Regions from separate parts of the Homo sapiens genome. Here region 2 is linked to region 1. The links are contacts of gene promoters, found by promoter capture Hi-C in human tissues and cell types (Jung and others, 2019). All regions are on one chromosome and are shown on one strand. The core of a region is centred on a gene start or on the middle of the fragment in contact, and the rest is flanking DNA. Distances in the headings are between cores, read along the strand shown. Region 1 holds the start of METAP1D (methionyl aminopeptidase type 1D, mitochondrial). Region 2 overlaps GORASP2 (golgi reassembly stacking protein 2).

Region 1 (6,433 bases), core at 1,386-3,885:
CCAGCTGGGTCTCCAACTCCTGGGCTCAAGCAATCCTCCTGCCTTGGCTTCCCAAAGTGTTGGAATTACAGGTGTGAGCCACTGCACCCGGCCGAATTATTCAATTTTTTATTCAAGAATCCTAAGTACAAAATCTGACTAATGGTAAGAATTCAAATCAGTGAAGTGCCATAATATAATTAACCTTCATTTCACAGATAGGAGCACGGACAGAAATGGAGTAGAGAAGTGACTCAGTAGCGGTTACTCATCTAAATAAAAGCACTCTAATGCTCAAGATCACAGAATGTTAAAATTGCAAGGGATCCTAGATATCAGTGATCTAGCCCTTTATCTTGTTGGTCACTATGTATATATCCCTTTTTTTTTTTTTTTTGAGAGAATCTTCCTCTGTGGCACAGGCTGGAGTGCAGTGGCAGGATCTCGGCTCACTGTAAACTCTGCCTCCCAGGTTCAAGTGATTCTCCCGCCTTAGCCTCTGAGTAGCTGGGATTGCAGGCATGCACCACCATGCCTGGCTAATTTTTGTATTTTTAGTAGAGACAGGTTTCACCATGTTGCCCAAGCTGGTCTCGAATTCCTGACCTCAAGTGATCTGCCTGCGTTCGCCTCCCAAAGTGCTGGGATTACAGGCATGAGCCACCACACCCAGCTTATATCCCATAAGTTGATGGTTTTGGCGGACATGTGCTGGCAGCTTTTAACCCTTCTGCGGTGAGAAGGATGTGTATGAGAGAAGCCAGATCCAGGGTCAGTGGATGAGCTATCACCTGTGCAAGTTCATATTTGCTTCATTTCTAGCTCATCCCAGATATCTACATTCCATGCCGAACTTATTGAGGATTTCCTCACTGGATTCCACTACTGCTGGTGCCACCTGGGTCCTCATAGTGTTTCCTTTTCCTTTTAGTTGTAGGGGAATAAAGCATTCATTTATTTTCCAAGGGTTGGCTGAGTTAAGTCACATGAACATGTGTTCTATTTCAGATGGGTTTGAAACTAGGCTTGATGCCTTAAGGAATAGGGATGTCTAGATTTCTTTTTTCTGTACACTGCTTAAGACTCTGTGGCCAGCTAACTCTCAGGCTCCTTTGCTGCACTCAGATTGCTGGCCTCAGTTACACAGAGGACAGATTTGCCACATTCAAAAATGCTCTCCCTGGAATTGAAATGAGTTTGCAAAAGGTAGGAGTACATTTTATTCTCATTCTTGTGCATCTTATTTACCCTGATGGAAAGCATTACTTCTCTTTATCTTTCAAGGTGACCCAAAAGCATCCAAAACCAGGTTTTCCAGAATTATAGCATGTGTCCTCTAATGAAATGCCAACATTCACTCTCTTTAAAAGTAAAAATATCAAGATTATATAGTCATTAAAAAGAATAAGTCTGAACTAAGTGTTCTAAGATTTGATGCCTATGATGACTGGAATGGAAAAAGCAAGTCATATGATTCTATTTAAAATACTTACATTTGCCTGTGTGTAAAAGGCAAAGATCTCAATTGAGCACACGGTGGTTAACTGGGGAGTGGGACTATGGTATGTACAGAGGGCGAGGAAGGGGCTTGCACTTGTTCCTTATTTCTGAATTGTTCTGAATTGTCTAGATTATTCACTGAGTGTGTAGTGCTTAAAAATTAATTAGAAGACATCACACACATTCACTGAGAATCCTAATCAATCTTCACTGCATTTAAAGTCTGGAAACGGTTACATTCTCAGTTTGACTGGTTTCATGCAGTGTTCAATTGCTTCACCTGACATTCCTCGGGTATCGGGTTCTGTGCCGGGCACGGAGGCTACTAAGATGAATAACACCTGGTCCATGACAGGATGGCATCTACCCCAGAACACAGGTAAGAGAGACAGTGAATTTGGTAAAAATGGGCACCGTCATCAGTAGGCATACATCAGCTCCCTCATCTGATTCACAATTGGCCTTCTGTAGGCTTCTTCTCTTGGCAATGCAATTGGCAGGCGTCATCCTTTTATACTTAAACTCCAAATTTAGGATTAAGACTCCAGTTAATACTGCCAAGCAGAAGGCGTCCTTGGAGAAAGAGAAGTCTCCTGAACATACCCACTGGGGTACCTAGAATAGATTTTGCAGCGACACACAGATCCTGTGTTGTCTGGAGTCTCTGCTGAGTAATGTAGATTCTGGGACAGCAAAAGGGGAGCTGGTGACTTTGAACCAAATTTTACCTTTCAACTGAATCCAGGGGAATAATTTGCAACAGAGTGGCAGACGATACAAAGTGCTATGTTGAACACTAGATTGTGCTTTATTTTTTCCGCCCAACTTCACGTTTCCATGCACCAAAATGTTGATGCTATAAATATTGGATGCCACGCTTACCTGACAGGCTTCTTCCATCCCACCTGGGCGCGGGGGCTCAGAGCGAGCGCGCGAGCCGCGGCTGGAGCCCGCCTCTCGCGGCTGGAGAGGACTCAGCCGGCCGCGGGTTCTGCTGCTTGCCCGGGTGCCCTAGCCGCTTCCCAGCCAGGGCTCCCGCAGTCAGCCCCGCGCGCGCACGCGCGCTCCCCTCGGGCGGCCTCGACGCCTCAGGGCTTCGGCAGGGCTGCGACTGGCCGGCTCCAGCGGGCGGGGCGGCGAGCGAGTGCTCGCGGCCACGTGACCGACGCCAACATGGCGGCGCCCAGTGGCGTCCACCTGCTCGTCCGCAGAGGTAAGCGCGTGGAGGAGAGCCCCGTGAGGGTTCGCACGGTTGCTCACTAGGTACGCACCCGGGTCCAAAGGGATGCGCACCCGCGCTCAGACTTCTCGGCGCACACGACTGTACTTTCAGTGTTTACGAACACACGCAGGCACACACGATGACACATTCACACACCACAGGATCACACATACAAATTTGTTCACTGATCACCCGCCTAGAACACGTCACCACGTGGCATCTTTTCGCAATTACTCCTTGAGATTTGCGGGCCATTGTCTGAAGTTTTTTTCCCCAACTTCGGTTGTATCATTAGTGTAACCAACATTTATTCTGTATGCCGAGCAAGGAAACCTATGGTAATTCTGAAATGCATCTGGACACCCGGTTCCCTTCCCTAGAGCTTTTATGCAGGCATGCTTTTTGGGGACTTGCAAAATGTGATGGTTTTCTTCCAGTGACTTAAAGTTAAGAAGATAAGAAAGGATGTCTGGGTAGTTCTAAGTAGGTTTTATCCTGCGTGAGTGTTGAGATTTTAGTAAATATACAAATGCCTTTGCAGCAGAATTGGGGAAATCTTTGTTGGATTTGAACTAGGTGCTGAATCTTTGTTGGAAAGAACTAGAAAGTTTTTCCAAGGACGGGGGAAGAGGAAAACTATCATATTTTGAGGAGCTACTTAAGCGTCAGGCATGTAGGAACAGTTTTGTGAGGTAAATATTATTTTCATAGTAACAGCTACTGTTTATTAAGTGCCTTTTAAGTACACGATACTGTGTTAAGCGCCTTACATATGCTTGCTTCCTTTTAAAACTCAATGAATGAGACCCCGTCTCTACAAAAAATTTTAAAAATTAGTCGGGCGTGGTGACACATGCCTGTAGTCTCAGCTATTCTGGGGGTTGAGGTGGTAGGATCGCTTGAGCCTGGGAGGTCAAGAGGCTGCAGTGAGCCGTGATCGTACCACTGAACTCCAGACTTGGCAATAGAGCCAGACCCTGTCTCAAAAACAAAAACAAAAACCCAGTGAGTTAGGAATTATTTTCTCTTTGCAGAAGGGAAAAGTAAGGCTAGAGAGGTTAAGTAACATTACTAAGGTCGCATAAATGGTAAGAGGCAGATTGCTCATTTGAACATGACTCTAATTTTTTTTTTTAAGACTCATTTCTCGGTACTGCATGACGTGGTCACTCCATAGAAGTCAGTGTGTAAAGTTCAGCAGAGACAGTGCAGGATGAGTGTGTACAAAAAGTGAAGAGAGCCTGGGCACGGTGGCTCACACCTGTAAACCCAGCACTTTGGGAGGCCGAGGCAGGTGGCTCACTTGAGGTCAGAAGTTCAAGACCAGCCTGGCCAACATGGTGAAACCCCGTCTCTACTAATATACACAATTAGCTGGGCGTGGTGGCGCATGCCTGTAATCCCAGCTACTCGGGAGACTGAGGTAGGAAAATTGCTTTAACCCAGGAGGTGGAGGTTGCAGTGAGCTGAGATCATACCACTACACTCTAGCCTGGGCGACAGAGCGAGACTCCGTCTCAGAAAAAAAAAATAAATAAAAATAATAAAAAATAAGAAGTGAAGAGGAAGATATTTTTAGAGAGGAAGAAGGTTGGTAATCGAATAGACTTCAGTATTTCAGTGTTAGTGGAGATGAGAAAGGGGCCACAGGAAGATTTGAGGGGAGAGATGTGTATGGGGAAGGTGATGTAGCGAGCATTTTGGACTGGTTGCATGAAGGAATGGACATCAGCATGAGAGTGTAGCCTTGTGAAAAGACAGCCAATTTACATCTCTCAAGATCTGGGTGCCAGGCCTGGCAAGGTGGCTAATGCCTGTAATATTACCCAGCACTTTGGGAGGCCAAGGCGGGCAGATCACTTGAGGCCAGGAGTTCAAGACCAGCCTGGCCAACATGGTGAAACCTGTCTCTACTAAAAATACAAAAATTAGCCAGGTGTGGTGGCACATGCTGGTAATCCCAGCTACTTGGGAGGTGGAGGTGGGAGGGATCGCCTGAACCCAGGAGGCGGAGGTTGTAGTGAGCTGAAAAAAAAAAAAAAAAGATCTGGGTTCCAGTCCAAACTTTCTTTACTAATTACTTTTCTGTTTCCTCTTTTCACAAGAAATCATGGCTTTTAGACTTCATTTTTGTATGCTTCAGGTAATGGTGAGAAGGATCTGAGGAGATAGTCAATGTAGAGGAGGAGCCAAAAAAAAAACAACCTGAAAACATACATAGGTGTATGTATGTATATATATATACACCTATGCATGTATAAACGTATTTTTATATGTGTGTATATATGTATTAGGTTGGTACAAAAGTAATTGCAGTTTTAGAATCAATGACAAAAACTGTGATTACTTTGCACCAACTGTATATATAACATCTCTTTGCAGATAACAGAAATAGCATTAATCTTTTCTTTCTTTTTGATCACTTATTATTTTGACAAATGGTGGTTTAGACAGTCTTGAGAAAATATATTATATGGAAGTCAGGCCAAGTTATTGGTTCCTATAATCCATCCCACTGTATCCCAAAGTGTTGCAACAACCAAGAAGTGGATCCTCTGATTAGAGGAGAGAAGAAAAATGTGTCATCAGGAAGCTATTTTAATGATGGAGAAAGGGCCCCTTTTTGGACTACCCATAGCTAGTTTTAAATTGCAGAGAGGTTTTCCTGCTCCCCACCCCCAAGAATTGAAAATGAAGGGTAAATTCACGAAGACTCCTCTCTCCACCCTCTTCCTCCCTTTCACCCATCTAGATTTATGTAAAGCAATCCATTACAAGTCTTCATGTACCAGGATTTATTATCAGCATTTATGAGCATCATTTCTTCTTGAAATAGAGGAAGACTTTTTTTTAACCTTTTAAAAAAGGCATGAGGTTTCTCTTGTGACGCCTCAACTCATTGTGGCTTTGGTCACAGTATACCCTATATACAGTAGTTACCTAGCTCCTCTCACCATTTCTGCTCCTTACTAGATTATTAATTCTTGTTGAACAGAAGCTTTGTCTTATGTATCTTTCTGTCTTTATAAGCACAGTACCTGGCTCAAAGTTAAGCTCATTAAAAGTATACAGAATTGAGAGGCTGTTAAGATTTGTTCTCTTCCATCATGGTCTAAGGAGGGTTGGGTAGAAACTATGAGTAGTGACATTGGAAAGAGGAAAAGACAGATCAGCCTCTTGGAACCAAGAGAGAAGGTAACAAGGGCCTTTAAGGGACTAAAATACTCCCAAGTATTAGTGCTGGCAGGAAATCCCTTCCTCAGAGTACAGAATCCCTACCCTGGGGCCCCAGGAACTCTCTCCTATCTCAGTCTCACTCCCAGCCCTCGCTTCACTGGAATCCCAGGTCTAGCTCGGGCCACGAAGCAAGATCCCAGTGAATATGAAGAGGAACAAGGAAATCTCAGCTTGAATTGTAATAATCCCCATGTGTCAAGGGCAGGACCAGGTAGAGGTAATTGGATCATGGGGATAGTTTCCCCCATTCTGTTCTTGTGATAATGAGTGAGTCTCAGGAGATCTGATAGTTTTATAAGCGTCTGGCATTTTCTCCTGCTTGCACTCATTCTCTCTCCTGCCACCCTGTGAAGAGGTGCCTTCTGCCATGATTATACATTTCCTGAGGCCTCCCGAGCCATGCAGAACTGTGAGTCAATTAAACCCCTTTTCTTTATAAATTACCCAGTCTCAGGAATTTCTTCATAGCAGTGTGAGAACAGACTAATACAGCAA
Region 2 (6,433 bases), core at 2,709-5,208, 1.0 Mb before region 1:
CAGCCTGGCCAACATGGTGAAACCATGCCTCTACAAAAAAAAAAAAAAAAAAAATTAGGCGGTGTGGTGGTGGTGCACACCTGTAATCCCAGCTACTTGGGAGGCTGAGGCACAAGAATTGCTTGAACCCGGGAGGTGGAGGTTGCAGTAAGCCGAGATTGTGTCACTGCACTCCAGCCTAGGCAACAGAGCAAGACTCTTGTCTCAAAAAATAAAAATAAAAAAGATGAATTTTTGAGTTTAACTTCCACCATTAGGCAGCTATGGAATCATAAGCAAGACATGGTAATTTTTTTTAACCTATCAAATGAAAGAATTGCACAAAATCCCTGGTTTTTAAACCTTCTTGGAGTTATGGAGAAACCCTTTGAGAATCTGATGAAAGCCACCAATATTTACACCCTGAAAACTGCTTATTCATATAAAAGATAGTGTGTAATTTCAGGAGCTGTAGTATTCTCTGAAGCCATCCACAGACCTCAATTTAAGATCCCTGGATTAGAGGATTTCTGGGTTAATCCTAGTTTTCAAAGTCTATAATTCTCTATTTCTGTCCACACTACTCTGTTGTCTAGCTACGCATGCTGTGATCCTCATTCTTCAGACTCCTGCTTCGGGTGTTTACTCATACTGTTTTGTCCATTTTCAGATGTCCTTCCTACCCCCTTGACCATCTTTACCTTTGAATGTTCTACCCTCTTTTTAAACCACAATTCCTTATCACTTTTTATGTCTGAAGCTTCTTCAGTCAGAATTAATCTTTCCCTTAGAACCTTATACCAAATAGCCTTTAGCCTGTTTGGTTTTACATTATAGTGATTAGAGGGCTGTGTATCCATTGCCCCTTCCTCTTCTCACCTATTCCTCAACAGATTATAAATGTCTTGACATACGTGACTATGTGCCTGTATTTGCTTTGTAACTGAGTGGTGCCTTGCTAGTAGTAGTCAAGGAATAATTGCTTGAATTTGTCACTTAATTGTAGTGACTGTCTGCTGTGTCCCCTGCTAATTGCTGAGAGGATTAGCCCCTTTCTCCCAAAAAAGGAGAAAGTGGTGCAGAAATAGAACCACAGAGGGAAAACCTCATATAGAAGATGAACTAGGCCCGGTGCAGTGGCTCACACCTGTAATCCCAGCACTTTGGGAGGTTGAGGCAGGTGGATCCCTTGAGCCCAGGAGTTCAGGACCAGCCTGGGCAATAAGGCGAAACCCTGTCTCTACAAAAAATACAAAAATTAGTTGGACATGGTGGTACGCACCTATAGTCCTCCCAGGTACTCGGGAGGCTGAGGCACAAGAATCGCTTGAATCAGGGAGGCAGAGGTTGCAGTGAACCGAGATTGTGCCACTGCATTCCAGCCTGGGCAACAGAGGTGGAGTCTGTCTCAAAGAAATAAAATAAAAATATAAATAGAAGATTAACTTAAAGAATGGGTAGAGTTTAGGGAGCTGGACGGGCATTATCTGGGAGAGATGAAGAGAAATGAGAGAACTAGCGTGTACTGTATTTCATTATCAGTGAAATTGGTCTATTTTTACTGAAAAGAGAGATTCGGCTTACAATTTTCACCTAAGCTTTACATTTTTTATTTTTGTCGTTTTTGTTTCCGCAGGTACAAGAAAATTCCCCAGGACACAGAGCTGGTTTGGAGCCTTTCTTTGATTTTATTGTTTCTATTAATGGTTCAAGATTAGTAAGTTCAACTTTCTGTAGTTTTGTCTATAGTATTTGTAATCTCTCAAAAATGGAATTTTTCAGATGACCTGAGATGGGTATTTATTAGTTACAATCATTATGTGTAGTATGCCAATTTATAGAAATAATCATGTATTAATAAACATTGAAATATCTATAATATTATACCTTATGCTCCACTGATTATCTTAGGGAAGTCTCTAGAATCAGTGGAGTCTTTTATATGTTAAATATTTAATTTTTATAAGCAGAAAGAAATAATTAAGATGTAAAAGATTGCTTTTTAAAGATGTCAGACTTCTGTTGGTTGTTGACAAATGGATTACTAGAAAGATTCATTCTCTCATCTCATTCTCTCAAACTCGTCAGTTTTCTTGGTGCTAAGTTTCACAATATATGAATAATGTTATTAGAACCAGACAGAGAGATGTGCTCCAAAGTACCAAATTAAAACCACTTTTTATACCTTGTTTAGAGTTTACCCATAATAAAGTTCTAAGATAAAGAAATTATATAATCTCAGCAAATTCTTAGGACAGTAGCCACTTGGTTGGTTTAATTTTTCGTAACAGTCTTAAGTTTTCGTTCATTACTTACAACATCTCTGACATATAAATAAAGGCCAACATCTGGCCTTTATTTGTTTATGAAATGAAATATTTAATATGCTGTTTCTACTTTCTTTTCTATCCAGCTCTTAATAAAGCATGTATTTAGAAATAGAGTCCAAAATTAAACGTTAACCCCAGTAAATGTTTTAGATTTTTATAATCAAAGTCATCACAACTTCGTTAGTAATGTGACTTCTTATGGCATATTTTGTTTTTACACATTGAAGCCCTAGATCATTCTAAATAATGTTGGGTTGCAAATTCCATAATCCATAATGAGCTATTAGAAAAAAGTCAGTTTCAAGTTGTTGCTAACGTAAGAGTTCTTAATTTCTTGACATTCTTTTACATAGAAGAAAATTTAAATGTTGGTGAAACCTTTGTTGAATGTTTTATTTATGTTGATTATTAATATTACTCTTATAGGGCCATAGGATGCTTAAGCTAACATTAAATTTTTATTTACTAAGGAATGTGATTTCTATGTGTTCACAGAATAAAGACAATGACACTCTTAAGGATCTGCTGAAAGCAAACGTTGAAAAGCCTGTAAAGATGCTTATCTATAGCAGCAAAACATTGGAACTGCGAGAGACCTCAGTCACACCAAGTAACCTGTGGGGCGGCCAGGGCTTATTGGGAGTGAGCATTCGTTTCTGCAGCTTTGATGGGGCAAATGAAAATGTTTGGCATGTGCTGGTACGTATCAACTGTGAACTGTTACTGGAGGTTCATGAAGCAGTGTGGAAAGATGTTTTAACAATGGTTGTTTCTGGCTTAATAAGATTGTAAGGATATTATTAATAGGCAATTTTTGCCAAAAATCAGCGTTCATTGCTTTTTAAGTATGGATCAATTTTTTTTTAAGTTGAGGAAGAGAAGCAAATGTACAAGTTTAAGAACTTTTTCTAATGATTTATTCATTATAAGATGTGTTAGAGTAGATAGCTACAAAAATATTTTAAATATTTGTTAAATATTATGTAATTTTTATGCTCAGAAGTTTAAAATATATTCTGTAGTTTCTGACATCTGACACATCTCTAGCAAGACAGAAGTATACAGATTTAAAAAATCAACATAATTAAAAATTGGACTATAAACCTTGGAAGATTATTTTATATATATTAATTTTAGGGTGTGTGTTTATGTCATTCTAGGAGGTGGAATCAAATTCTCCTGCAGCACTGGCAGGTCTTAGACCACACAGTGATTATATAATTGGAGCAGATACAGTCATGAATGAGGTAATTCGTGTGTTTATTCATAGTGAGAACTATATAAAATTTTCTCATTGAGGTTTGAGTTGAGAAAGATATTTGCATGCTTTGCATTTAGAGTTAAAATTTCAGTCTTTGCTGATCAAAAATAACTTAAGCCTCAGGGTGTTAAATGGAACATCTGGTAGGTGTCTTATTAGGTATAGCTGTGAGGAAAAACACATACTGTGCGGCAATTGCACAGATTTTATGTGTAATATACAGAAATCTTTGCATACCTGAAGTCTAAATCAAATTCTCATTTTCAATTGTTCATTGATTTCATTTTCTCTTCCCCTTTTTGTTCAGTGACAGCATTAGCTCAGCTATATTACATCCTTTTCCTTGTCTCTTAGCTAGCGGAAGTATACATTGCTAAATCAAAAATGAGAGAAAAGGCTGGGCACAGTGGCTCATGCCCATAATCTCAGCACTTTGGGAGGCCGAGATGGGAGAATTACTTGAGCTCAGGAGTTCGAGACCAGTCTGGGCAGCATAGTGAGACCTTGTCTCTACAACAAATACAAAAATTAGCCAGGCATGGTGGTGCATGCCTATAGTCCCAGCTACCTGGGAGGCTGAGGTGGAAGGATCACTTGAGCCTGAGAGGTTGAGGCTGCAGTGAGGCAAAATCATGCCACTGCACTCTAGCCCAGGCAACAGTTAGAGAGACCCTGTCTCAAAAAAAGAAGAAAAAAAAAAGAGTGAGAAATGAGGTGCCCAGACAACCAGGTCTTAATAATGGGAAGTAAAAGCAGAATATGTAGAACTCGGGTGTAAAAGAATTGTACTAAGAGTGCCAACTAGATCTTAAGGAACTGGCCATAAAGCCTTGTATGTAGTAAGTAGGCTTTGCTTGAATTAATATATTGAATTAAACCTGCTTGTGATTTTTATGTCTGGGGCAGGGCCCAGAATCTGTATTTTTTTCTTAGATTTCTCAGGTGATTCTGATAGCCAGGTTTGAGACACACTGTTCCAAAGTATGGTAACGTGAAACATTTTCTCCTGTGACACTTTTGCAGTCTGAAGATCTATTCAGCCTTATCGAAACACATGAAGCAAAACCATTGAAACTGTATGTGTACAACACAGACACTGATAACTGTCGAGAAGTGATTATTACACCAAATTCTGCATGGGGTGGAGAAGGCAGGTAAGGTCATTTTTTAGACTAAGTTATGACTGCTTAAACATACCAGTCAGATATGTTGCAGACATTGATTGTTTTTATTTTGAAAGAAATTACTGGTTTATTTTAAGACTCCTCTTAAAAAAAAGGGAAGAGCTAGTCTAGAATATTGAAACCAATTTTTTTAAAGTACATATCTAGGGAACATAGTATATATACTATAGTCCTTTTCTTTACTAACCTAAGAGCTAACAGCATTTCTTTTTAATTGAGAAATTATTGCGCATAAGCCATAATTATAGAAAAGCCTAGAATTTGGAAACATTCCACATGTTTTCAAAAGTTCTAATCCCATGCTGGGAAAAGGATAACTTAGTTGCTGCAGGCAGGAAAAGCTTCCGTTTGCTCACAGTATCTTTACCCACACTACCTGAGATTCTCCAGCTGAATGTTTCGCCACAAGTATTCTAACTTGTTGCAGTTTGAGAAAAGTAAGATAGATGTGTCATCCAAGAGTCTGGCCTATATGGGGCAATACTTGATCAAATTATCATTGTCCATTGCCCAGGTTTGTAAATGCCCAGAAATAGGATCTATTCGAGGCATTCAAAATTTATTCATTACAAGAGGCACTTCCTCATATAAACTACATTTGCAGAGAAGCTGCTATATTTGAATGACAAATTTTCAGTTTGCAATAGAAAAATACCCCCTCTCTAGTTAGAAGAATACTCAGGTCAGATTAGTACCACAAGAGTGCCTGCTGAGCATGGAATCAAACTGGAGGAAGAGATTCTGTGGACAGTGAAGACCAACAGCAAAGAACATCACATATTCTTTCATTTTTAATTATGTTAACTAAATTTGGCTACATTCTTTGGAAGACATTTTTTCTTTTGATGTGTTTAATACTGTCAGTTGGCCATTGCATTAGCTAGGCCCATACAGAACATTTTCGTCAGTCTGCCTCTGACCATGCATTTGGTCTTTTTGTGCTTCTGTTTTTATTCCTTCCTCAGAGGCTGACCACATTTCATTTATTAAATCTTATTTCTCTTAATTTCATTCTTAGGCTGTCTTTAAGTTTGCCCAGGGTCTTGCTGTTGCCTCAAGTGCATTGTCTATTACCACTTAATTACTTTGACCAATAAGCACCTTGTTTTCAAATGTAGCTACCTCTGAAAGGCCATAATTGATCACTATAAATTATTTAATCTTTATTTCTCTAAATCCCAGTCCAGTGAGAATTGCAGGGTTTTGTTTGTTTGTTTGGAGACAGCGTCTTGCTCTCTGGGCTGGAGCACAATCATAGTTCACTGCAGCCTTTAACTCCTGGGCTCAAGCTGTCCTCCCGCCTCAGCTTCCTGAGTACCTGGGACTACAGGTGTACACACTGTACTTGGCTAATTTAGAAACTCTTTTTTAGAGATGGGGCCTTGCTTTGTTTCCCAGGCTAGTCTTGAACTCTTCGCTTCAAGCAATCTTCCCACCTTGGCCTCCCAAAGTCCTGAGATTATAGGTGTGATCTTCCATGCCTGGCCGAATTGCAGTTTTGATTGTGAGGGAAGAAGGGAAGAAGGAACAAATAATTGTGAGATGAAGCATCATTGTGCATATCAGACTGGTAAAGGAGGAGCTAGGCCTGGCATGGTGGCTCACGCCTGTAGTACTACCGCTTTGGGAGGCTGAGGCGGGTGGATCACTTGAACTCAGGAGTTCAGTACCAGCCTGGG

The links. Contacts are between HindIII fragments. The study calls those that stand out against the background at their distance.
Region 2: a contact is called between a fragment that was not itself captured here and the fragment with the promoter of METAP1D in region 1, in 1 of the 25 tissues and cell types used here (lymphoblastoid cells).

What each region holds. Positions count from the first base shown.
Region 1 is chr2:171,997,318-172,003,750 of GRCh38, forward strand. It overlaps METAP1D (methionyl aminopeptidase type 1D, mitochondrial), which reads left to right and starts at 2,636. Exons shown (of 10, transcript NM_199227.3): 1 at 2,636-2,692. The coding sequence starts at 2,653. It overlaps LOC124905590 (a long non-coding RNA gene), which reads right to left and starts at 2,592. Exons shown (of 3, transcript XR_007087296.1): 1 at 2,362-2,592. RefSeq lists a silencer at 2,331-2,630. The HindIII fragment of the contact is 22,489 bases long and covers 1-6,433 here.
Region 2 is chr2:170,946,735-170,953,167 of GRCh38, forward strand. It overlaps GORASP2 (golgi reassembly stacking protein 2), which reads left to right. Exons shown (of 10, transcript NM_015530.5): 2 at 1,616-1,696; 3 at 2,805-3,008; 4 at 3,470-3,556; 5 at 4,594-4,724. Among named protein-coding and RNA genes, the nearest start is that of GORASP2, 21 kb to the left of the region's middle. The HindIII fragment of the contact is 5,600 bases long and covers 1,159-6,433 here.